3 separate regions of the Homo sapiens genome follow, and all the other regions are linked to region 2. The links are contacts of gene promoters, found by promoter capture Hi-C in blood cells and fetal thymus (Javierre and others, 2016). All regions are on one chromosome and are shown on one strand. The core of a region is centred on a gene start or on the middle of the fragment in contact, and the rest is flanking DNA. Distances in the headings are between cores, read along the strand shown. Region 1 holds the start of ARHGAP19 (Rho GTPase activating protein 19). Region 2 holds the start of SLC25A28-DT (SLC25A28 divergent transcript). Region 3 holds the start of MMS19 (MMS19 cytosolic iron-sulfur assembly component).

What was found. The method cuts DNA at HindIII sites, captures the fragments that hold promoters and counts their contacts. A CHiCAGO score of 5 or more calls a contact.
Region 1: the fragment with the promoter of ARHGAP19 here is called in contact with the fragment with the promoter of SLC25A28-DT in region 2 in 2 of 17 cell types (non-activated CD4 T cells and total CD4 T cells); the score reaches 6.4 in non-activated CD4 T cells.
Region 3: the fragment with the promoter of MMS19 here is called in contact with the fragment with the promoter of SLC25A28-DT in region 2 in 2 of 17 cell types (fetal thymus and total CD4 T cells); the score reaches 8.0 in fetal thymus.

Annotation. Positions count from the first base shown.
Region 1 is chr10:97,290,947-97,294,047 of GRCh38, forward strand. ARHGAP19 (Rho GTPase activating protein 19) reads right to left here and starts at 1,691. Exons shown (of 12, transcript NM_032900.6): 1 at 1,626-1,691. The coding sequence starts at 1,681. It overlaps ARHGAP19-SLIT1 (ARHGAP19-SLIT1 readthrough (NMD candidate)), which reads right to left and starts at 1,727. Exons shown (of 15, transcript NR_037909.1): 1 at 1,626-1,727. RefSeq lists enhancers at 503-1,261, 1,262-2,018 and a silencer at 1,363-1,412. The HindIII fragment of the contact is 8,887 bases long and covers 1-3,101 here.
Region 2 is chr10:99,619,084-99,622,108 of GRCh38, forward strand. It overlaps SLC25A28-DT (SLC25A28 divergent transcript), which reads left to right and starts at 1,762. Exons shown (of 1, transcript NR_186534.1): 1 at 1,762-2,835. SLC25A28 (solute carrier family 25 member 28) reads right to left here and starts at 1,356. Exons shown (of 4, transcript NM_031212.4): 1 at 962-1,356. The coding sequence starts at 1,252. RefSeq lists enhancers at 582-1,164, 1,748-2,330, 2,331-2,912 and silencers at 1,047-1,206, 1,937-2,096. The HindIII fragment of the contact is 4,603 bases long and covers 1,548-3,025 here.
Region 3 is chr10:97,497,097-97,500,119 of GRCh38, forward strand. It overlaps MMS19 (MMS19 cytosolic iron-sulfur assembly component), which reads right to left and starts at 1,326. Exons shown (of 31, transcript NM_022362.5): 1 at 1,177-1,326. The coding sequence starts at 1,288. UBTD1 (ubiquitin domain containing 1) reads left to right here and starts at 1,828. Exons shown (of 3, transcript NM_024954.5): 1 at 1,828-2,177. The coding sequence starts at 2,108. RefSeq lists enhancers at 451-981, 658-707, 1,068-1,237 and silencers at 1,478-2,237, 2,248-2,447. The HindIII fragment of the contact is 10,400 bases long and covers 1-3,023 here.

The DNA of each region.
Region 1 (3,101 bases), core at 441-2,940, 2.3 Mb before region 2:
CAGGACTAGCTGGATTTCCTAGGCCAACTAAGAATCCCTGAGCCTAGCTGGGAATGTGACCGCATCCACCTTTAAACACGGGGCTTGCAACTTAGCTCACACCCAACCAATCAGAGAGCTCACTAAAATGCTAATTAGGCAAAAACAGGAGGTAAAGAAATAGCCAATCATCTCTTGCCTGAGAGCACAGCGGGAGGGACAAGGATCAGGATATAAACCCAGGCATTAGAGCCAGCAACGGCCACCCACTTTGGGTCCCCTCCCTTTGTGTGGGAGCTGTGTTTTCACTCTATTTCACTCTATGAAATCTTGCAACTGCAAAACAAAAACAAAACAAAACAAAAAAGAGTGGAAAACTCTTCCATATCATATTTTATTTTATTTATTTATTTGAGACATAGTCTTGCTCTGTCACCCAGGGTGGAATGCAATGGCGCATCTGGGCTCACTGCAACCTCCGCCTCAACCTCCTGAGTAGCTGGGACTACAGGCGCCCGCCACCACACCCGGCTAATTATTGTATTTTTAGTAGAGACGGGCTTTCATCATGTTCGCCAGGCTGGTCTCGAACTCCTGATCTCAGGTGATCCGCTCCCCTCGGCTTCCCAAAGTGCTGGGATTACAGGCGTAAGCCACCATGCCCGGCCCCGTATGATATTTTAAATAACACACTCAACCACGCTCATCTGGGCTCAGGAAGAAGCCGAGTCACAAAGTTATTAGTTTCCCAAGATTCTTGGAATCTCTTATTCGGTACAAATGGAACCAAAAGACGCCAAACCGAAGTATTTTACTGAGTTACACTGAGGCAACGTAAATAAACTCAATCTATTGAATTACACCAAAAACAAAATTGTAATCAATTAAGACAACTTAGGTCTCAAGGCTAAGGCAACACCACCTCGAAATTCTCTCCTGAAAACGCTAAATCTCGGTGTGGCTGTTTAGGAAAGAACATCCTGTGGAAATAAAGTCATGATGTCCTGGACTACAGATCCCTCTCCCATCTGCTCCTTAGCTGTTCTACTAGGAAGAAGAAAATCTATTGCGTAGAGTTGTCATTATCGGCTAAACTCAGTGCTAGCTTTAAATGGATTGTCTTATTCAATCTTGACACTTGGAAATAGGCATCCTCACGTCCCTTTGCAGATGAAGAAACTGAAGTCGAGAGAGGTTTAAAAACTGGCCCAAGGACTCAACACTGTTTCTAATTGACACTCAAATCCTTGCTCGGACCTGAACGCACAAAGTGCCTCGGAGAAGATGTGAAGCGCTGTGTGCAACAGTGAGGAATTCGCTAACCAGCCCTGGACTTCCGTTTCCTCGCCATCAAGAGGTGTCTCGGCGCCAAAGCGATCAGCGCTGCCACCCCCAGCTGGACGTCTGCAGCCAGCGCAGCGGGAGGAGCCCCCTCGGGCACCGGCAGGACCGAGCGGGGGGTTTGGCTGGAGTCCAGCGCCCAGGCCCGACCCCCGCGCCTCAGCCCCCGCAGGCGCGACGATGAGAAACGCCGTGGGAGAAAGAAACAAAGCCCGAACCGTGCGCCTCCGTGACCCAAGGCAAAGGCGGCAGGACTACCAGCCCAAGGCCGCGTTTCCCAGGAAACTGGACCAAACTCAGCTCACCTCCGGCCGGATTCGCGGGCTGGCACCTCCCCTTCACTCTGTGCCTCAGTCGCCATCTTCGTCAGCAAACTTCTTTCACCGCCCCACCTTACGTCCCGCCCCCACATATTTGGATTGGCTAATATGTTTTCACCTCTTCCGTGCGATTGGATGACTCGACCGCCCCTCCTCAACCTGAACCGTTTAATATATTATTGGTCTATTCAAATGACTAACCGTCATTGGTCGTTCCCAGCCCTGGCGGAAAAAGAGGGAGGGGCGGGGAAGAAGACCCAGCCCCGAGGCCTGCCGGGAGTTGTAGTTTCTCATTTTGATGAACCCTTCCGATTCCACAGACCTTTAGGTTCAAGTCAGAAATCACCAGCCTATGCTCAAATTTTGTCCTGATATGTAAATCAGGGAATTATAGAACTGTCAACTTTGAAAGTGACTCATCACTTTCTAAAATGCAAGACTCCGTACCCTATATCTCAGCATCACACAATATACCCAGATAACAAACCAACTCATGTACCCCCTAAATTTAAAATAAAAGTTGAAAATAAATAATTTTTTTTTACAATTTTTTTAATTTTTTTTTTCTGTTGAGACAGGGTTTCACCATGTTGCCCAGGCTGGTCTCGAACCCCTGAGCTCAAGCAATCCTCCTATGTCAGCCTCCCAAAGTGCTGGGATTACAGGCATGAGGCACTGCACCCAGCCATAAATTAATTCATTTAATTTAATGTAATTTAATGCAAGACTCGTTCTCTGTCTTGACCCAGAGATAAATCCCTCAAGTGCAGGCAGGGAGTGGCAACCTAGAAGTACTTGCTTTTAAACGTATAGTTCAAAGCCTTCTTTCTTCAGATACTCAGCATAGCCCTAGCCATAGGTCATTTCTTTCTTCCTTTATTTCTTTCTTTTTTTTTTTTTTTTGAGATAAGGTCTCCCTCTGTCTCCCATGCTGGAGCACAGTACAATATTGCAGCATACCAACACACAGGGCAAATTTTTGTACTTTTTGTAGAGATGGGGTTTCACCCTGTTGGCCAGGCTGGAGTCGGTCATTTCTGCTTCAATACATTCACTCCCTTCCAACTTCCCAGAGAACCCACAGAGTTTGCCTTGTGATATGAACCATGGAACCAAAAGCTGCATGACTTTGTCCCAAACTAAACTTTAATCCTCAATGGTAGGAATAACCATAATTATCCTTGTCCTCCCTGCGGCACACACTTCTCCTAGGGATTAACTGAGGCAACATATGTGAGAACATTGTAAATTTTGAGCATTGTTGTTTTTTGTTTTTCCATATTGTTTTCCTATGCTGGACTTTTCTCGGGAATTTCTGTATTGATCCTTCTGATATCCTGCCACCTGGGGCTCTCCCTGCACTCTGCCTCCTTTTTACTAAACTGTACTGCACATGCTTCACTTTCTGAACTGTCTTAGGGCTTTTGCACATGTTGCTTTTTCTGGCTCGTCCATTTTTCC
Region 2 (3,025 bases), core at 512-3,011:
AAAGAACAATAATCTGTTTCTTTCTTCACCCAGCTTTCTTCAGAAGGACCTGACTTCAGTACACATAAATCATCCTGCTTGGTTGTGAATGCAATTAGTTTTACTTTCACAAGAATCGTGTCCTCTTGTTGATCTCTTTCCATTTTCTTCATACTTACATCTACTTTCTAATACCGTCACACTTCCTTTCTAGGCAACTTCTCCCTTTTTGCCAACTTCAGGTGGCCAAAGAAATATGCTATCAGTTTCATCTCTCTTGTTTGGAGGCTGATGTGCTCCCTGAACATACAGTCCTAATCCCAGCTCAATTTTCATGTTCAGGAAATAGGTGGGGTATCATGCTTGCTTCACAGAGAAACTGAAACCTATTCCTGAATACGATCTTTCCCACATTACTTCCAGTCTGGAATTCTGCATTCTCACTGCACAATGATTTCCAATCACTCATGTGTTAAGATTTAACATGTAAGTCCTTTATCTAGCTGAGAGATCCCAGATTCGGGTTCCTGCCCCGTCAGTAAGGGAAGATACAGCAAGGAGTTTGTAAAAGCACTAGCCCAGAAAACATCTCAAGCCGTTAGATCCATTTCAGGGTCTGGTTCACGCCAGTTGGCTTCACCTTAATCGAGTTAGTAGCACTTACCTGAGCTTCGGGATACCCCATCCCACCCTATTCCTGTTTAGTCCCAGGTGGGGTCCAGGGCTTTGGCTGACAGATTTTCGATCCTGAGTCCCGATTCAGATTTCACTGACGGTTAGAAATAGGTCCTGGTTCCTGACTGGGATCAACTCCCAGCTGGGACCTTGCTTGAATGGAGTGTCGGTTCGAATCATGTGGTAGTGGCAGGAGCCAGGAAGGAACCCATGTCGGCTCCGGCTCTCAGCCGGGATCCTGGCTCCGGACAAGACCCAGGGGTCGGGTCAGCCCCAGGTCGGGTTCGAAGCCGGGTGCAGGTCTCACCTTGACGCAGTCGATGGGGTACATCACGCAGTGCTCCAGGATCCCTGCCACGGCGCCTGCCACCATGTGCGTGGTGACAGTGGCTCCAGCCGGCAGCGCCTCGTAGTCCGGGCCGGAGTCCGGATCTTGTCGTACCGGGGGCCTGCAGGCCCCGGCCTCCCCGCCGCCGGCCCCCCGGCCCACGCCCCGCTGCAGCCACCCGTCCAGCAGCGCCGACTCCCCGGGGCTCCGCCCGGGCCCTGCCGCCGGCCCCCCCGCCACACCGCCAGCACCCCGCCCCTCCAACTCCATCCACCCGGGCCAGCTGCGGCGCCCACCCCCGCCGCCGCTGCCACCACTGCCGCCGCCGCCCCCCGGCCCCGTAGTGTCCGCCTCAGGCGCGGCCCAGAGAGCCCGGGGCCTCCGGCTCCCGCTTGGCCCCGCGGACACGCCCCCCAAGCAACCATTGGTGGAGACGCCAAGTTAGACCCACCCCTTTCCTTACGTACGAAAAATCAGCCGGTAGTATTAGCGAAGTCGCCTGTCATTCCTCCGCCCTGAGGCGTTGCTAGCGCCTACATCCCACCTTTTCCCCTTTGATCTTAGAAGCTTCTTGTTTATTGGTCACTGATTGGCCGACATGTGCGATCAACCCGCCTCTGACTTTTAGAAGGGCGGGAGAAACTTAAGGCTGAACTTTGATAGGCTCAACCACTCTTGATACTTTGACCGCGGCCATTGGCCCGCACCACGTCGGTCCCCGATTGGCTACAGAAAGAGCGACGCGCCCAGGGACTCTAGGGGCCGACTTCGGGCCCCTCACTAGCGCCTGCAGAGCTGCGGTCCCTGTGCGCGGGATCGCGTCGGGGGCGGGGCGGCGACAGGCCTTCAACGTCAAACTGCTGACGGGCGCCGTTACGACCCGCGCTCCCGTGCGCTCCTCAAATTCTGAGACGCGTGGCTGGAGAGCGGGCGGCCCTGGCCCCGGAGAGCCGTGTTCCCGCGGGATCTCGTCGCGGGCGTGAGGCGGGGCCGGCCTGGGCCGGTCATCCCTGGCTGGCGCGACCCGCAGCCTGTCCGGGAAGCCGTTGCGACATGCGGGCTGGGAACCGCCTCACCTCCAGGGGGGACCGCGGCGGCCCGCTAGACTCTGGTCGGGTCTGGAGTATTGGGCCCTCTGGCCGGACTCGGTGCTCCTCAGGCCCCAGCGCCCGGCACTGAGCCTCGCATCCACATTCGCAGAGTAAACCCAACAAGTGTTGAATGAATGAGGTTCCCCGGGCCCCGGCTGTCACTGGGCTCTGCGCCAGGCCAAGAGCCGAAGGCGGGGGAGGAAGATGTCGAAATGGGCGGGATGATTCACAGATGACGGCCGGTGGCGAGGCGGGGCTGGAGGCCGCATCCCAAAGGCAGCAGGGAAGTGCGGCGGCTGTGGGGAAGCTCGGACGCACGGCCTGGCCGAGTCTGAAGCATCAGTATTTTGTCCCTGAGCCGGCGCGCTGATGGGTCCCCCGCCTGGCGATGAGGGCTTCTCCCTCCCTCGGGTCAGCCCGGGTCCTGAGAGGCAAGGCCAGCGATTCCCGGCCTTAGGACCTCCTGCTCTAGGGAGCACGGGCGTCTTCTTCCATTTGCCTTCCCCGAGCGTGTTGGCACAAGCTGCCCGCGGTTTCCAGCTCTGTCTTCTCTGTTTTACCCAGATGATGCAACTGTGGACTTCTCCATCTGTTCATAGGTTTTCCTTGGATAGGAAAGATGTTTTCCTTTTTTCTTTCTAAAGTTTAGCTCTTCTCTGGGCTTCCTTTTTAAAAACTTTTTCTACTCTCTTCAGCAGTTGTTATTAACCTTTAGGTCGCGACCGTTTGGAAAATAATAAAACTACGAATTCTCTTCTCCTACTTCCACCTCCCATCCCCTGTGTGCACTCAAAATTTTGCATATCATTTCTGCGTTTCAGAGTCCCTGAAGGTGCCATGTGGACACCCTAGGGGTCCATTAACCTGGTTAACCTCTCCCTGGCCGGCGCAGTGGCTCATGCCTGTGACCCCAACACTGTGAAGGCCGAGGTGGGACGATTTATTGAGCTCA
Region 3 (3,023 bases), core at 76-2,575, 2.1 Mb before region 2:
GCAGCACCAGGTATTTGCTCCTTGATGCTTCCAAACTACGCTGCACACACCTCTTACAGAATGGTTGCCTCTCCCAGCATACTATAAGTTCCTGGTGGGCACAGATCTAACCTAATTTGTATTTATATTCCTATTGCTTTGCATCATGTTTGGGGAATAATATGTATTCAACAATAGTGGCATGATTGAATTAAAGTGGAATACTGCTAACGAACAAAGTATTATATTTCTAGCAGATTCACTATTCTTTTCTTACATATTCTAAAGGTTAATACGCTCAATATCCAAGAGAAATGTGTCCTTACTTCTCTCCAAGCATACGAAATTTCCAAAGTTTTTTTAAAAAAACTACTCATTAGATAATTTTATATTGTTACTTAAACCCAAGATCTGAAGGCCTCCTAACATTCAATAACTTTTTAGTAGTTTTTTTTTTTTCCTAGAAGAGCAAAGTCTCAGAACTCCACGGAAGCCTGGAAATCGTTTTATTCTAATTTTAGATAAGCTGTCTGAACTAAGAGATCTCTGAACTGGTCAAAAGCAGGAAAGTGGGGGTCTGGGAAGAAGACAAAAACAAACGCCACATAAAACGTCATGGAGCAAACTAATCAAGAACTTTAGCAAGAAACGGAGAGAAAGTCTTAAGGAGGACACCCAGAACATCTCCAGCTCCTCCTGGCCCGTCTCCTCAACTCCTCTTAATTCCAGCCAGTCAGAGCGCGGGGCCATCTGCCACTCCCAGGATGCCACGCGACGGGAGCGGACGCTGCGAGGATGCACCTCCACACGTCAACCTCCCACAAACAGCATGGCTTCGTGGCGTGAGCACCCGGTTCGGACCTGAACGCCTGGGTCCGAGTCCCACCTCCCCCTCCTGCCTGGTCTGCAGCCCTGCGCAAGTCCTCTTGCCCTCGCTGAGCCTCAGTTTCCTCATCTGTAAAATGTAATGATTCCCTATAATTGGCTACAGGGAGATGAGAAGTGTAAATGGTTTTAAGGAAGACACAGGCAACTCTCTAACTTGTTACGGCTCTGAACCTCGCGGTGCTCACTAACCAGCCTTGAGACCAATCTCTCAAAGTCACCCCGCTCCTCCCTTCCCGCCCGGCGCCTGTACTGAGGCCGCTCCCTCCTGTTGGCCCCCATGCGGAAGGCGCGCGGCGCCGTCTGCCGTACCTGCAGCCACCTGGTCAGCGGGGCCCTCTTGCTGACCCACGACGAAGTCGTGCACGAGGCCCCATAGGGCACCCATAGGCGCCGCCGCCTCCACAGCCGCGGCAGCGGCCATAACGCGAACTAGAGACCGTGGGAGGGGATATGGGCGGTGGCTCGAGACGGGCTCTCCGCGCATGCGCCTCCCGAGCCAATCTCCGGGGAAGCGCAAGGGGGCGGGGCGCCGGGGTCACGTGCCTGCCGGCTTCTGCCTAGGCAGTTCCAGGGAGGGGCGGGGCCTGAAATGGGGCGGTGGCACCGAGAGGGAAGGCGGCTGCTGGGCACGCAGCCGGAGGCGATTGAGGGCGAATAATTCCCAGCCCGGCTCCCCGGGAGACGGGCTGCGGGGCGGGCACCTGGCTGGGTGGGGAGAGGGGCGGTACGCACCACGGGGGAAGCCAATGAGAAAATCAGGCCCAGCCCTAGGGGGCGGTGCTGTCGGTCACATGCGCACCTGGGGCGGGTGGTGGCGGCGGCGCGGGCACCGCGAGCCGGCGGAAGGGAGAGGGGCCGGCCTGGGGCGGGGTTAGGCAGGTGAGTGACAGGCTCCAGGGGGCCGGCCCCTGCCTGGTGCCCCGAGCGAGCCGGGAGTAGCTGCGGCGGTGCCCGCCCCCTCTCTCCGCCCCTCCAGCGGAGCTGGTCTCCGGCCGGGCACCGTCGCGGGCCCCCCTGGCCCGGCCACCTGGGACCGTGCTGGGGAGTCTGCCACTTCCCTCTCTCCCCTGGCCCGCAAAGTTTTGGCGGAGCCATCGCTGGGGCTGAGCGCGCCCCCGGGGGGAGATCGGGGAGCGCCCGATGCCGGGCGGCCGGAGCCATTGACCCGGGACGCCGCCGTCCGCTGAGCAGCCGACCACCCCGCCGCCTCCGGTGCATGGGGACTGGCTGAGGAGCCAGCATGGGCAACTGCGTGGGGAGACAGCGCCGGGAGAGGCCGGCAGCCCCGGGACACCCCCGCAAGCGAGCAGGTAACGATGGGGAAGGGAGCAGGGCCTCGGGCATCCCGCCAGTTGTCCCCCTCCTCGCCCGAGTCCTGGGCTTACCGATGGACTCCCCACTGGTGCTGGCGCTTGGGTTTCCCCGATGGGCTGCTCCGCAGCCAGAGGGGGCCGCTCCCCAGCGCCGGGCGGCCGGGGGAGCTGAGTTGGGGCAACTGCGAGCACTGAGCCGGCTGCGCGACCAACTCTCTCCAACTGGGTAGCTCCTGGTGGGGGTGGGGGCAGGAAATGTTTGCAGACCGCAGCGGGGCCGACGGATCGGGAGGAGGCCGGGGGCGAGGGCGCCGCTGGCCTGGCAGCTCCGGCCGGGGTCGGACGCCGGCCCGTCGGGGCACGGCGCGGGCAGCCAGGCGTCCCCAGAACTCGGAGCGAGCGAGGCGAGAACAGTCGCTCCTTCCAAAGACTGTGTCATTATCGAGCTGCAGATCGTGTCTGCGGGAATCCGACTTGCAAAGCAGCGCAGGACTCTGGGAAAGAAATCTTTATTTTTCCCGCAGGGGTTTTTAGAGCCTCTCGGCCGTCTGGGAGTCTATAAAAGATGGGGTGCGGGGTGAGAGTCACCCTTGGGATTGTTGGGATCCTTCCCAGCTTTGGGAGTGAGATCGCTCGCTGGTGATCCTCCAGGCCCGCGCAACGCTTTCTCACTTTCATGGTACACCCCGCCTGCCCTGGCATTTCGCCCCGGGAAGAGGTCTGTCGGTCATTTTTCTGGGTCTTACACTCACTTCCTTCTTTGAGGGTGTTGCAAGGACCCGCTGGGAATAATATCGTAGACTTGAGAGCTCAAACTTGTCTGGATTCCAGATGGACCCATCT